Regions from separate parts of the Homo sapiens genome. Here region 2 is linked to region 1. Evidence: promoter capture Hi-C in human tissues and cell types (Jung and others, 2019). All regions are on one chromosome and are shown on one strand. Each heading gives the region's core, a stretch centred on a gene start or on the middle of the fragment in contact. The rest is flanking DNA. Distances are from core to core; before and after follow the strand shown. Region 1 holds the start of ZNF564 (zinc finger protein 564). Region 2 overlaps ZNF563 (zinc finger protein 563).

Region 1 (7,849 bases), core at 3,451-5,950:
TCCTGCCTCAGCCTCCCGAGAAGCTGGGATTACAGGCGTCCGCCACCACGCCCGACTAATTTTTGTATTTTTAGTAGAGACCGGGTTTCACCATGTTGGTCAGGCTGGTCTTGAACTCCCGACCTCAGGTGATCCATCCGCCTTGGCCTCCCAAAGTGCTGTGATTACAGGCGTGAGCCACCACCGTGCCTGGCCTACACAGGCCTTCTATAGACGGTCAGTAAATCTTCCCAAAGGGTGCTGGGGATTTCCCAGGACCACATGTGCCAGGCCATTTTACCATTTCTCTCTTCCACATGAAGGTCTGGTAGAACGAAGGCGAACAGCCGCATGGCCGCTAATCGTTCCACTCGTAGTCAGGGGACTCGTTCACCTTCCAGGCCGGTTAAGGCTATTCTCCGCTATCGTCAGGGCTAGGTAGGTCTCGCCCCACTGGGACAGAGAGGTCCCCCAGGTCCCGGATCTGCGCGGCTTCCTGGTCTAAAGCAAGGCGGCCGAGCCTGTGTCCCTAGACCGCCTCCAGGGCCCTCTGCACCCTGACGCCCCATCGCGACCGCCCCGCTTCCCGCCCGCCGCTCCCGCAGCCACCTGGAGGCGCTGCGTCTCGGCTGGGGCTTCGTCTGTGCCCGGCACAGCGAGGGCCCCGGTGTCTGCGGGGCAGGGGCCGCGGCCTGTCCCGGGACATCCCCGCCCTCCAGCTCACCTGCCTGCTTGGGACTCGGCAAGCCGGCCGCACTCTGCGTCTCACCGCGCTCTCTGTACCATTTTACATTTCCACCACCAAAGTAGGAGTAGGAGTAGGAGTAGAATCCAGTTTCTCTTATGTCCTCCCCAGCACTGGTATAATCCTTCCTTCCTTCCTTCCTTCCTTTCTTTCTTTCTTCCTTCCTTCTTCTTTCTCTTTCTCTCTCTTTCCTTCCCTCCCTTCTTTCTTTCTCTCTCTCTTTTTTTTTTTTTTTTTGAGATGGAGTCTCACTCTGTCACCCAGGCTGGAGTGCAGTGGCACGATCTTGACTCACTGCAACCTCCACCTCCCAGGTTCAAGTGATTCTCGTGCCTCAGCCTCCCGAGTAGCTGGGAGTACAGGCGCCCGCCACCACGCCCAGCTAATTTTTTGTATTTTTAGTAGAGACGGGATTTCGCCATGTTGGCCAGGCTGGTCTCGAACTCCCGAGCTCAGGCAATCCACCCACCCCGGCCTCCCAAAGTGCTGGGATTACAGGCGTGAGCCACCGCACTGCACCCGGCCCTCCCTCTTTCTCTCTTTCTTTTCTCTCCTCTCCTCTCTCTTTCTTTCTTTTTCTTTCTCTCTCTCTCCCCCTCCCTCCCTCCCTCTCTTTCTTTCTTTCTTTCGACAGGGTCTTGCTCTGTCACCCAGGCTGAAGTGCAGTGGCAAGATCTCGGCTCACTGCAACCTCTGCCTGGTGGGTTCAATGATTCTCCTGCCTCAGCCTCCTGAGTAGCTGGGATTACAGGCATGTACCACCACACCATGTGCTGCCACGCCATGTGACGCCACACCTAAAACAGTTTTAAAGAAAGGAGACAAAAAATTATTAGGCTGGGCACAGTGGCTCTTGCCTGTAATCCCATCACTTTGGGAGGCGGAGGCGGGTGGATCTCTTGATGTCAGGAGCTCAGGACCAGTCTGGCCAATATGGTGAAACCCCATCTCTACTAAAAATACAAAAATTAGCCAGGCTTAGTGGCACACACTTGTAATCCCAGCTACTCAGGAGGCTGGGGCAGGAGAATCGCTTGAACCCTAGGAGTCGGAAGTTGCAGTGAGCAACTTGAGATCTCGCCACTGCACTCCAGCCTGGCGACAGAGCAAGACTCCGTCTCAAAATAATAATAATAATACATAAAAAGAAAAATATTTTTTTCTGAGACGGAGTCTCACTCTGTCGGCCAGGCTGCAGTGCAGTAGTGATCTCGGCTCACTGCAACCTCTGCCTCCTGGGTTCAAGTGATTCTCCTGGCTCAGCCTCCCAAGTAGCTGGGACTACAAGTAGCTGGGACTACAGGCACGCGCCACCACGCCCAGCTAATTTTTGTATTTTTAGTAGAGACGGGGGTTTCACCATGTTGGCCAGGAGGGTCTCGATCTCTTGACCTCATGATCCGCCCACCTCAGCCTCCTGAAGTGCTGGGATTATAGGCATGAGCCACCGCGTCCGGCCTTTTTATTTATTTTTCATAGAGATGGGGTCTCGACATCTTTCCCAGGCTGGTCTTGAATTCCTGGGCTCGAGCAATCCTCCCTCCGCAGCCTCCCAAAGTGCTGGGATTACAGGCGTGAACCACTGCATCCAACCCCTGTCCAGATAATTTTTGGCTTCTGTGTAGCATTCCTTTCCCCAGCGTACAGGACAGGACACTCTTTGGAGTGAGAGTCTTATGACCCACGATCACATTAGAGTTCTGCAGTGGACAGGTGAATGGGGGGCAGGAGAAGGTCAGAGAGAGAGAGTTTCTGTTTACTGTAACAAGGACTATGGGAGTTATGAGTCAGGAAGCATGGATGGAAACCAATGTATAAATCATAATAGCATAGCTGATATCTTTGTTTTCTCAAAGGAATCATTACTTGCCAGTTTTAAAATCCATATAAAGTATTTTAGAATTTTTTGTCTTCCAGCTTATACATAACCACAGAAGGAAAGCAGGAACTCTGCTAGTTTCTTAAAAACAAACAAACAGCAAAGGGGATTGAAGGTCTTTTTTCTTACCTAAGTGGATCAGTGTTGGTGAGAAGCAAGTGAATAAACTGCAGTGGGCAGGAGAGCCTGAGACCAGTCTGGAGCCTGCAAAGAGAGGGAAAGGGTGCTTCTTGGGCAGCCTGCCCGCCCTTGCAGGTGGCCTCCAGCTGCTCAGGAGTGCAGATTCTTTTTTTAATTTTAATTTTATTTTTTACTTTTATTATTTTTTTGAGGCAGAGTCTCACTGTTTTGGCACCCAGGCTGGAGTGCAGTGGCGCAGTCTGGGCTTACTGCAACCTCTGCCTCCCGGGTTCAAGCGGTTCTCCTGCCTCAGCCTCCCGAGTGGCTGGGATTACAGGCACGCGCCACCACGCCCGGCTAATTTTTGTATTTTTACTATAGACGAGGTTTCACCATTTGGCCAGGCTGGTCTCGAACTCCTGACCTCAGGTGATCCGCCCGCCTGGGCCTCTCAAAGTGCTGGCGTGAGCCACCGCGCCTGGCCAGGAATGTGGATTCTGAGAAGCTGCAGAGCTGTGAAAAGCAGGAGACCCATGTGCAGATGTGGTTGGGTTGGGGGTGGAGGGTTCTGTCTTTTCTGAGGTTGTACCTTTGGCGCCTGGGGCCATTTCCTGGACAGTGTTTTGGTTTTAGCATTCATGGGGTCGCTGAGTCAGGCTGTAATTTGTATACATGAAGAAAATCTGTGAGGGTCAGACTCAGTGAAAAACTTGTTTGCATTGTCCCCTGGAGAAAAGGTTTGGGAACATGACAATTTATTTAGGTCACGACTTTACATTGACTCCGGGTGAGAGTTTCCTGCTGGTACAAATGAAGGTTTTGAAGGAAAGAGTGTTTCCACACTGTGAGGAGAGGACTGGAGGGCACCTTGAGCTCCCAAAGTTGAATTCTTAAGTGTCCCTGTCTCATCACCAGGTTCTGATCCACACTGGGGTTCCATTTCAGCAGTTAGAGTCTGGGTCCCAAGCTTGGGATTATTTTATTTTATATTTCATTTCTTCATTTCATTATTTCATTTCATTTCATATTTCATTTTTTAGTCTCGCTCTGTCGCCCAGGCTGGAGTGCAATGGCGCTATCTCGGCTCACTGCAACTTCCCCCTCCCAGGTTCAAGCGATTCTCGTACCTCAGCTTCCCGAGTTGCTGGGATTACAGGCACCTGCCACCACGCCTGGCTAATTTTTGTATTTTTAGTAGAGATGGGGTTTCACCATGTTGGTTAGGCTGGTCTTGAACTCCTGACCTTAAGCAATTTTCTCACCTTGGCCTTCCAAAGTTCTGGGATTACAGGCGTGAGCCACCGCGCCCGGCGCTTGGGAATATTTTTAACGTTATGATTGTGGGTTTTCCTTGTGAACTGCGGGTGAAGCAGGCTGCTTGTCTGAGCTAGTTCAAATGTTTGCTTACTTCTCTTGGTTTCTTTATAGATGATCGCTGTCATAAAAACTCCAGTTTTTCCTATACATTTAATACTTTTATTTCTTTGTCCGTTTTAATTTTCTTGCCTGAAAGAAGCAAGCCCTCCTCCCTCCTGTTACACTGTGGTCTGGCCTGGCCTGGGCGCGCCTCCTACTCCGAGGCCAGGGGATGGCTCCACTGGACGCCGAGTCTGTCATTCCCTGTGCACACTTGTGACTCTGTGTCCGGGAGGAAAAGGCAGGAAGGGCACCCTGAGTGCAGAAACACGCCAGTGTCACCTCTGCAGAGCCTGAAACACTTTCTGCTTAAATGCAAATATCCTCCCCGGCACAGAAGGTTACAGAAGGAGGAAGCCCGGCCCGCGAAGGGCAGTGGCCAAGACCCTGTCAATCTGTCTTTACTCAGCCACATACCGCATTGCTTCTCCTGTCACTCAGTACCAAGGGGGCAGGACTTGAATCATCACCCAATCAGGGGCACTGGGGCGGGAACCTGCAAACCATCCAATCAGGAACTCTGCAAGGGGGACAGGGGCAATGTTCAACAACTCCGCGGGGTCTTCCTGTTTCGTGTCCGCTGCGTTTGGGTTCCGGTCTCCGCTTCTCCAGTGGCCCCGGTGGCTCCACCGCAGCGTCTGGCGCGCTGGGACCTGCACAGGCCGGAGAGAGCCGTAGGCAGGACCCCGGGACACCCTGGAAGCCAGGAAATGGTGCGTGTGCGGGGCCGGGCGCCTGGAGACTGGGGGAGGGGCTTGTGGGAACCGGCCGGAACCGGCTGTGGAAGCACCCTGGCCTCCCTGCAGCGACTCCAGGGTCTGGGACCCGAGTTCCCTGGCGCAGCTCGGCCCTCTGTCCCCTCGGCCGCAGGGTGGGTTGGGCCGTAGCCAGTACCCCAGGCGTCCTGTCCCGTCCCTGCGCGGCGACTGCGGCCTCGGCCTCGGAGCCCTGTCTGGGCAGCTCCGCGCCCGCAGCCCCGCCTCTCTCCAGATTGTTTGTACTGGGACACGGGAGGGTCATAAGGCGGAATCCCGTCTCGGGTGTGCGGTTCGTGCATGGGAAGAGCTGTGGGCTGTGGCCTTCCCAGTACATCGTCTTTTTTTCCGGGGGACTGGTCTTCCTCCGAGTCTTCCAAACGTACTGGAAAAAGAATCTCAAACCTACGACTCCCGTTTTTTTTAGCCTAGCTTTTTCTGGGGCTGGAAATAAATGCCTAAATTTCCGGTTCCTTCCCCGCATTCCCAAAGGTGACCTCCCCTCGCCAAATCAACATTATCAGCTGTTTTTTGTTTGACATTTAAGACACAGTATTTTAGTTGTTTATAGTTTCTTTCACCATACTCTTTTGAAAGGATTTGTTTTCTGTTTGTTGTTTTTTTTTTCTTTTCAGACAGAGTTTCGCTCTGTCGCCCAGGCTGGAGTGCAGTGGGAAGATCTCAGCTCACTGCAACCTTCGCCTTCCGGGTTCAAGCAATTCTCCTGCCTCAGCCTCCTGAGTAACTGGGATTACAGGCATGCGCCGCCACGACCGGCTACTTTTTGTATTTTTGGTAGAAACTGGGTTTCTCCATGTTGGCCAGGTTGGTCTCAAACTCCAGACCTCAGGTGATCCGCTCACCTCCGCCTCCCAAAATGCTGGTATTACAGACGTGAGCCACCGCGCCCGGCCTCTTGTTTGTGTACTTGTAACCTGAGAGGGAAACGGAGAATAAGAACCTGACACTCTACGGTAAAATTTTTTTTTTTTTTTGAGACAGAGTTTCGCTCTTATTGCCCAGGCTGGAGTGCAATGGCGCGATCTCAGCTCACTGCAACCTCCACCTCCTGGGTTCAAGCGATTCTCCTGCCTCAGCCTCCCGTGTAACTGGGATTACAGGCATGCGCCACCATGCCCGGCTAATTTTGTATTTTTAGTAGAGACAGGGTTTCTCCATGTTGGCCAGGCTGGTCTCGAACTCCCGACCTCAGGTGATCCGCCTGCCTCGGCCTCCCAAAGTGCTGGGATTACAGGCGTGAGCCACCGCGCCCGGCCGTGGTAAAAAAATTTTTGTGCTTCCCCTCCTTTTATCTTTCCTAAGCCCCGACGCCTAATCAGAATGTCTTTGGGTGGAGTTTCCCCTTTGGAAACTTTACAAGGTGATGTGGCCCTCTATCTTTTCCTGGTCCTGATTTTCAGAACTGCCTGGGCCTGACCCAGGATACCCACAGCTGCCACTTCTCTTGGAGGATCTAGTGATTATCAACCCCTGGGTCACTCCTCCCAGAGGACAGCTTAAGGTGTAGGGGTGGGGCCTCTCACGGGAGCAGCTGTATGCCCTGAGGTGGGAGGAGTCTCCCGGTATCCCCTTCCTCTGAAAAGTTTACCCTTTGGGACGCTCAGCTTTTCTTCCTCAACCCCAGTTTCCGTTCCTTAGGGACACATTGATGGTTACCCAATCTTAGGCTGTTACTGAGAGGAAAAGACACAAATGATTCCTGACCTCTGGATTGTTTTTAGTCTAGTGAAGGGAGGAAAACTATCTCAAAGGAGAAGGAAAACCTGCCCCATTGAAATGGTGCGAGAACCTGAAAGTTAAAATGCGCTTGGGGCAGAGTGAGCAGGGCACAATTCACTGTCTTCAGGGAGGTTGGTCACTGAGCACTCAGTGAGCCAGGGTGGGGCTGGGAGATGTCCTAGGGGATAGGGTGACCTCACCTGACATTGGAATCAGATAAATGTCTGTATTCCAGGTCAGCATTGCCTCTCCCTGGGTTTGTAAACCCTTGAAAAGGTTTATTTGCTTATTTGATCCTGTTTTTCATTAAATGTAGAATGTATTTTATCAGTAGTGCTTGAAAGACAAGATAAAGTGTTTGCAAAGGGAGGGTCACAAAGGGGAGAAAGAGGCAGAAAGTAGATTTGAGGGAAAACAATTATCTAGTCTTACATTCAATTTGTTAAAAAATCTTATTTGTGTAGTTTCCTCTCCGCAACATGTATGGTAGGTTTCTCAGGTCTATTTTCTTCTTTTGGGTGATTTCAGATCAATCCCAGAACTTAGCCTTGAGAATGCTACTGCGGATAAGAATCTCAGATAAGTAGGGAAATTCAGTCTTCCATTATGGCTACAGAGAAACGAATACATTTCCACATTAATTGGTGAAATACAGAGATTCTCTAAAATATCTTCTCCTTTGCAGGGTAGAGATTTTGTCGTAATGGATAACTGTTCTGTATCCTTTCATCTGGACTTTGGTGATTAATGCTAAATCCTATCAGATGGGACTTTGAAATATTAAATATTAGTGAATTAAATATTAGTAAAGAAGTTGTCATGGAAGTAACAATAATGTGAGGTCTCTATTGTCTGAAAGGGATAGATAAATGTGCTTTTCATGTTTAAGCTATAGAATACAAATGTCTTGCCAGCCGCGATGGCTGACGCCTGTTATCCCAGCACCAAGGCAGGTGGATCACGAGGTCAGGAGATCGCGACCATCCTGGCTAACATGGTGAAACCCCGTCTCTACTAAAAAATACAAAAAATTGGCCGGGCACGGTGGCTCACGCCTTTAATCCCAGCACTTTGGGAGGCCAAGGTGTGCGGATCACAAGGTCAGGAGATGGAAACCATCCTGGCTAACACAGTGAAACCCGGTCTCTACTAAAAATACAAAAATTAGCCGGGTGTGGCGGTGTGTGCCTGTAGTCCCAGCTGCTGGGTGGCTGA
Region 2 (7,849 bases), core at 3,793-6,292, 240 kb after region 1:
ATGAACAAGTCCAGCTTAAATTTATTTTTTAATTTTTTAAATTAACTTTTTTTTTTAGTCAGGGCCTTGCTCTGTTGCCCAGGCTGGAGTGCAGTGGCATGATCTTGGCTCACTGAAGACTCGACCTCCCAGGTTCATGTGACCCTCCCACCAGAGCCTCCTGAGTAGCCAGGACTACACGTGCAAGCCACCACACCTCGTTAATTTTTGTATTTTTTGTAGAGACAGGGTTTTGGCATGTTTCCCAGGCTGGTCTTGAATTCCTGGGCTCAAGCAATCTGCCTGCCTTGGCCTCCCCAAATGCTGGGATTACAGGTGTGAGTCACTGCACCAGCCTAAATTTATTTATTCTTAAAAAATTTCCTCCTAAAACATTTTATAAGAATTTACATATGAGGCTGGACATGGTGGCTCATGCCTGTAATCCCAGCACTTTGGGAGGTTGAGGCAGGCAGATTACTTGAGGTCAGGAGTTTGAGACCAGCCTGGCCAACATAGTGAAACCCTGTCTCTACAAAAGTACAAAAGTTAGCTGGGCATGGGGGTATGCACCTGTAACCCCAGCTGCTTGGGAGGCCAAGGCAGGAGAATTGCATGAACCCAGGAGGCGAAGGTTGCAGTGAGCCGAGATTGCGCCACTGCACTCCAGCCTGGCGACAGAGCAAGACTCCGTCTCAAAAAAAAAATTAGCCAAGTGTGTTGGTGCACACCTATGGTTCCAGCTACTCATGAGGCTGAAGTAGGTAGATCACTTGAGTTCAGGAGGTCAAGGTTGCATGAACCATCGTTCTGCTACTGCACTCCAGCCTGGTGACAAAGCAAGATACTGTTTCAAAAAATAAATTAATTAATTAAAAAGAAAAGGAAAAAAAAAAAACCCAGCTGGTGTTGGGTTGTCTTGCATAGCATTCAGTTCATTCATGTTCAAACAGGGCATGAAGCCTACACTTTGCATGGTAATGATAAAAAGGTATATCTGGCCAGGCGCAGTGACTCACTTCTGTAATCCCAGCACTTTGGGAGGCCAAGGGGGGGTGGATCACGAGGTCAGAAGTTCGAGAACAGCCTGGCCAGCATGGCAAAACCCTGTCTCTACTAGAAATACAAAATTAGCTGGGCGTGGTGGCGTATGCCTCTCTAATCCCGGCTACTTGGGAGGCTGAGGCAGGAGAATCGCTTGAACCCGGGAGGAAGAGATTGCAGTGAGCCGAGATCGTGCCGCTGCACTCTAGCCTGGGTGACAGAGCAAGACTCCATCTCAGGGAAAAAAAAAAAAAAGTACATCCAATACCTATTAATACACATAAATAAATAATCATTTAGAAACAACTATTTAGTAACGTACTACTCATTTTTTACAGATGTCATATGGTAGAGAGATTCAGTGAAAGTAAAGACAGTAGTCAGTGTGGAGAAACATTTAGCCTCATTCGAGATAGTATTGTGAACAACAGCATTTGTCCTGGAGAAGATCCATGTCAAAGCGCTGAGTGTGAAGAAGTCATAATGGGTCATTTATCCCTTAATAGCCACATCAGAGTTGATTCTGGACACAAACCACATGAGTATCAGGAATATGGAGAGAAGCCACATACACATAAACAACGTGGGAAAGCCTTCAGTTACCATCACTCCTTTCAGTCGCGTGGAAGGCCTCACACTGGAAAGAAACGCTATGAGTGTAAGGAATGTGGAAAAACCTTCAGTTCTCGTAGAAACCTTCGAAGACACATGGTAGTGCAAGGTGGAAATAGACCTTATAAATGTAAGTTGTGTGGGAAAGCTTTTTTTTGGCCCAGTTTATTACGTATGCATGAAAGAACTCACACTGGAGAGAAACCGTATGAATGTAAGCAGTGTTCTAAAGCCTTTCCTTTTTACAGTTCCTATCGAAGACATGAGAGAATGCACACTGGGGAGAAACCGTATGAATGTAAGCAGTGTTCTAAAGCCTTGCCTGATTCCAGTTCCTATATAAGACATGAAAGAACTCACACTGGAGAGAAACCATATACATGTAAACAGTGTGGGAAAGCCTTCAGTGTTTCCAGTTCCCTTCGAAGACATGAAACCACTCACAGTGCAGAGAAACCCTATGAGTGTAAGCAATGCGGGAAAACATTTCATCATCTTGGAAGCTTTCAGATACACATGAAAAGGCACACTGGAGATCGACCTCATAAATGTAAGATATGTGGGAAAGGCTTTGATCGTCCCAGTTTAGTTCGATATCATGAACGAATTCACACTGGAGAGAAACCCTATGAATGCAAGCAGTGTGGGAAAACGTTATCTCATAGCTCAAGCTTTCGAAGACACATGATAATGCACACTGGAGGTGGACCTCATAAATGCAAGATATGTGGGAAAGCTTTTGTTTATCCTAGTGTATGTCAAAGACACGAAAAGTCTCACAGTGGAGAGAAACCCTATGAATGCAAGCAGTGTGGGAAAGCGTTATCTCATAGCTCAAGCTTTCGAAGACATATGGTAATGCATACGGGAGATGGGCCGAATAAATGCAAGGTATGTGGGAAAGCCTTTGTTTATCCCAGTGTATGTCAAAGACATGAAAAGACTCACTGGAGAGAAACAATATGAATGTAAACTATTATAAAGCCTTCTATATTTCCAGTTCCCTTTGATATCATGAATAAACTTACACTGGACAGAAACCCTATAAATGTAAATGTGGGAAAGCCTTTCATAATTTTTATTCCTTTCAAAATCATGAAATATCTCACACTGGAGAGATGCTGTATGATATAAGGAATGTGGGAAAGTGATCGATTTTTTTTTAACACCATTGTCAACATAAAACAACTCACAGAGCAGAAAAACTCTGTGAGTGTAAAATATGTAGGGAAGCCTTCAGTCATTTTGGTAACTTAAAAGTACATGAGGCTGGGCACAGTGGCTCACGCCTGTAATCCCAGCACTTAGGGTGGGCAAATTGCTTGACCTCAGGAATTTGAGGCCTGCCTGGGCAAAATGGTGAAACCATGTCTCTACAAAAAATAGAAAAAGTAGCAGGTGTGGTGGTATGCCCCTGTAGTCCCAGCTACTTGGGAGGCTGAGGTGGGAAGATCTCTTGAGCCCAAGGGGTGGGGGTTGCAGTGAGCCAAGATGCACTGCACCCCAGCCTGGGCGACAGAGCCAGACCCTGTCTCAAAAAAAAAAAAAAAGTACATGAAAGGATTCACTCTGGAGAGAAGTCATATGAATGTAAGAAATGTAGAAAAGCATTGAGTTCTCTCAGGTCCTTGCATAGACATAAAAGGACTCACTGGAGAGATACTCTATAAATGTGTGAAATGTAGGGAAGTATTCTTTAATGTTATTTCATTTCAGATAGAAATAATTCTCATTGGAGATAAACCCTATGAATGTAAACACATAGTAAAGCCTTAATTTTAAGCCTCAGTTTCTTTCAAATACAGTTATCCCCTAATATTTGCAGGAGCGTGGTTCTACCACCCCCTGGGCATACATAAATCGACACATGCCAAGTCCTTTTTTAAAAATGACATATTTGGTACAAAATTACCCGGATGTGATGGCACATGCCTGTAATCCCAGCTACTCAGGAGGCTGAGGCAGGATAATCACTTGAATCCGGGAGGCGGAGGTTGCGGTGAGCCAAGATCGCGCCACTGCACTCCAGCCTGGGCAGCAAGAGCAAAACAACCTCTGTCACACACACAAAAAAAAAAAAAAAGGAAAGAAAGAAAAGACATATTTGGGTTAGACACAGTTGCTCACCTCTGTAATCCTAGCACCTTAGGAGCCCAAGACAGGTGGATCACTTGAGCCCAGGAGTTAGAGGCCAGCCTGGGTAATGTGGCAAAACCCTGTCTCTACAGAAGATACACAAATTAGCCAGGTGTGGTGACATGTACCTGTAGTCCCAGCTACTAGGGAAGCTGAGGTGGGAGGATCGCTTGAGCCTGGGAGGTTGAGGTTGCGGTGAGTCAAAATCACATCACTGCATTCTAGCATGGGCAACAGAATGAGACCCTGTCTCAAAAAAATAATAACAATAAAAAATATTTGCATGTAACCTACCCACATCCTCCTGTATACTCTAAATCATCTGTAGATTAGTTAAAATACATCATGCATCATAGAAGCTATGTAAATAGTTGTTATTATATTGTTTAGTGAATCATGATATGAGAAAGACCCTACACATATTCAGTACAGACCCACCCACATAATACATGTCACCTAGAGCATTATAAATCTTTTCTTTCAACACTCATAGATTGCTTTTGTTTAATGACCTGAAAATGTGTTAACATTCACCCAACAAAAGTGTAATGATGATTATTGCAATATCGTGCCTAATGTTGTGATGTGTTGAGTCAGCTAGATGTGTGACACCACAGATAAGCAGTGAGACCTCAGGCTAACTCGAATCTTGACAGGATGTCAACATGATCAACTATATTGGAAGAAACAGATTCTGACTGCAGATACTGAATTTTTGGAGCAGTCTAAATAATACTAATGTCAGAATCTGTTCAATTTGAGGACTGAAGATCTTTAAGCATTGAAGGCTGTCTTCATATTTGCAGATATTTAATTAGAAACATTGTAGGAAGCTAGTTTTTTTTTTTTTAAACTTTGCAACGTTTGTGAGCATGTAATCTCTGGGGTGACATGGAGGCTTTGTTCCATGGAAGAATCTTAATTGAGGATGATAATCTTTAACACTTGCGCCTTGTAGAAGCTGTAGGTGCCCTAAAACTGCTTCCAATTTTTCTTTTTTTTTCTTTTTCTTTTCTTTTTTTTTTTTTTTAAGACAAGATCTCACTCTGTCACCCTACAGTGCATGGCTCACTGCAGCCTCAACTTCCTGGGCTCAAGTGATCTTCCCACCTCAGCCTCCCAAGTAGCTGGGATTATAGGCACACATCACGATGCCTGGCTACTTTTTGTGTTTTTTGTGGAGACAAGGTTTCACCATGTTTCCCAGGCTGGTCTTGAACTCCTGGAATCAAGAGATCTGCCTGCCTTGGCCTCCCAAATTACTAGGATTACAGGGTGAGCCACCACACCCAGCCTTCAGATTTTTCAAGTATCAAAATCTATAGCACTGCTTCTTTTTTTTTTTTTCAGACAGAGTCTCACTCTGTCGCTGAGGCTGAAGTGCAGTGGTGCAATCTCAGCTCACTGCAGCCTCCACCTCCCAGGTTCAAGTGATCCTCCTGCATCAGCCACCTGAGGAGCTGGGATTACAATCTCAGCTCACTGCAACCTCCACCTCCCAAGTTCAAGTGATCCTCCTGCCTCAGCCACCCAAGTAGCTGGGAATACAGGCATGCACCACCATGCCCAGCTAATTTTTGTATTTTTAGTAGAGACAGGGTTTCGCCATGTTTGCCAAGCTGGTTTTGAACTCCCTGTGACTTCAAGTGATCTGCCTGCCTTGGCCTCTCAGAATGCTGGGATTACAGGCATGAGCCACCACTTATGGCACTGCCTCTTTATTTATTTATTGAGACTGAGTCTCACTCTGTCACCCAGGCTGGAGTGCAGTGGCACGATCTCGGCTCACTGCAAACACTGCCTCCTGGGTTCAAGCGATTCTCATGCCTCAGCCTCCCAAGTAGCTGGGATTACAGGTGCCCGCCACCACACCCAGCTAATTTTTGTATTTTTAGTAGAGACGGGGTTTCACCATGTTGGCCAGGCTGGTCTTAAACTCGTGACCTCAGGTGATTCACCCGCTTCGGCCTCCCAAACTGTTGGGATTACAGGCGTGAGCCACCACGCCTGGCGGCACTGCCTCTTCTAAATCTACATCATCATCATCATCATCTATAGAGGATTTCAGCATATCTTCTAGTTCCTTGTTAGTAAAGGTTTCTTCTTTGCTCTTCTGTGTGTTCCTCAACATTGTCTTCACTTGTGTCAGAGATAGCCTTCCCCACCAACTTTCCTTACATTTAAGATATTTCTGACTATCATATCGATAGTGCAGAAGCGCCTGAAATCATTGACTTCCTCACTCCATAATGGCTTCCAACACACTTTGGCTGTCTTGAGCTGTAGGGCATTTACAGCCTCCGCAATAAACACAATCGTTTCTGCAGTTGGGAAGCTCTTCCATAAATCCTGTATGACATGGTGAGGGTTATTATCAAGACAGCATAAATCCTTCCAAAAGTCCAGTGGGTGTAAGACACCTTGAGGCACTTGATGATGCTTTGATCAAGTAGTTGTAGCAGTGATGTAGTTTTAGGAGGCAGGAACATCACTTCCCCATTTTTATCGGCATAACAGAGAGAAGAGAGATGCCAGGAGCGTTGTCAGTTATGAGGAGGGCCTTGAGTGGCAGCCCCTTCTTTTCAAGGTATTCATTCACATCAGGAATGAAGCAGTGGTAGAACCAAGTCCTCGTGTGTTTTTGTCAGGACACGGGCAGGCAAGTTTCGCTTTTGTTTTCAAGGACCCACGGATTGTTTACTTAGTAGAGGAGGCTTTGTTTGATCTTATGACCTGCTGCATTGCCACGTAGCACCAGAGTAAGGCAATCTTTCCAAGTCATGAACCCCAAGGCTTTCTTTGTACTCTTGTGATGAAGGTACAATTGGGCATCCTCTTCCAGAACATGCCTGATTCATTACAATGGAGGATTTGCTCTGGAAGTTAGCCTCTTTTTTTTTTTTTTTTTTAATGAGTTTCATGAGCTTTTCTAGGAATGCTGATGTTTCCTTTGCATCAGCCAAGGCCAATTCTCCCATGTTCTTCAAGTTCTTGAAGCTCTAATGCATTGTGTAGCTAGCTAAGCCAGACCTTGCTGGCCTGAAACTCCTTCCTGTAGATCTTTTTTTTTTTTTTTGAGATGGAGTTTTGCTCTTGTTGCCCAGGCTGGAGTGCAATGGCGCTATCTTGGCTCACCACAATCTCTGCCTCCCAGGTTCAAGTGATTTCTTCTTCCTCAGCCTCCTGAGTAGCTGGGATTACAGGCATGTGCCACCACACCCAGCTAATTTTGTATTTTTAGTAGAGACAGGGTTTCTCCATATTGGTCAGGTTGGTCTCGAACCCCGTGATCCTCCCGCCTTGGCCTCCCAAAGTGCTGGGATTACAGGTGTGAGTCACCGTGCCCAGCCAAGGTAAATTCTATCTTATGTGAATTTTGGCACCATGAGAAAATGGCGGGGGGGGGAAGCCACAGAAGTGGGCCGGGTGCGGTGGCTCACGCCTGTAATCCCAGCACTTCGGGAGGCCGAGGCATGCGGATCACGAGGTCAGGAGATCGAGACCATCCTGGCTAACATGGTGAAACCCGTCTCTACTAAAAGAATACAAAAAATTAGCCGGGCGTGGTGGCAGGTGCATGTAGTCCCAGCTACTAGAGAGGCTGAGGCAGGAGAATGGCGTGAACCCAGGAGGCAGAGCTTGCAGTGAGCCAAGATCCTGCCACTGCACTCCAGCCTGGGCGACAGGGGTGAGACTCCGTCTCAAAAAAAAAAAAAAAAAAGCCACAGAAGTGCAAAGACTCCCTTGGACCATGAACTTACCAAGCAGCGCTGGGCCACATTCCTCCTTGTCTGCAGCACTAAGTTTGTTCATTTTCCTGTGTTCATGGAAGACCTGTTCCTACGCAGTCCCTGTTTCTCTCAGGCAACCTTTAGATTTGATCCCAGGCTTAGGTCAGCTACTGCCACACAGCTTTGTTCCCAATCTGAACCATACTCACTTTGGACCCGTGTGGTATGCTAACACCTTCCTGTTTATTTGAAGGGGTAATATTAATTTCTACTTCACAACATTCATAAACATAATTGAGGCCAGGCAAGGCGGTGGCCCACGCCTGTAATCCCAACACTTTGGGAGG

What was found. Contacts are between HindIII fragments. The study calls those that stand out against the background at their distance.
Region 2: a contact is called between a fragment that was not itself captured here and the fragment with the promoter of ZNF564 in region 1, in 2 of the 25 tissues and cell types used here (liver and pancreas).

The regions. Positions count from the first base shown.
Region 1 is chr19:12,548,333-12,556,181 of GRCh38, reverse strand. ZNF564 (zinc finger protein 564) reads left to right here and starts at 4,700. Exons shown (of 4, transcript NM_144976.4): 1 at 4,700-4,852. The coding sequence starts at 4,850. It overlaps LINC02926 (long intergenic non-protein coding RNA 2926), which reads right to left and starts at 4,456. Exons shown (of 2, transcript NR_187485.1): 1 at 3,313-4,456; 2 at 2,538-2,807. RefSeq lists enhancers at 2,648-3,147, 3,148-3,649, 4,433-4,727, 4,793-4,902, 5,561-6,063 and a silencer at 5,133-5,212. The HindIII fragment of the contact is 29,302 bases long and covers 1-7,849 here.
Region 2 is chr19:12,313,346-12,321,194 of GRCh38, reverse strand. ZNF563 (zinc finger protein 563) reads left to right here. Exons shown (of 4, transcript NM_145276.3): 4 at 1,362-3,718. The coding sequence ends at 2,601. Among named protein-coding and RNA genes, the nearest start is that of ZNF563, 16 kb to the left of the region's middle. The HindIII fragment of the contact is 6,161 bases long and covers 1,962-7,849 here.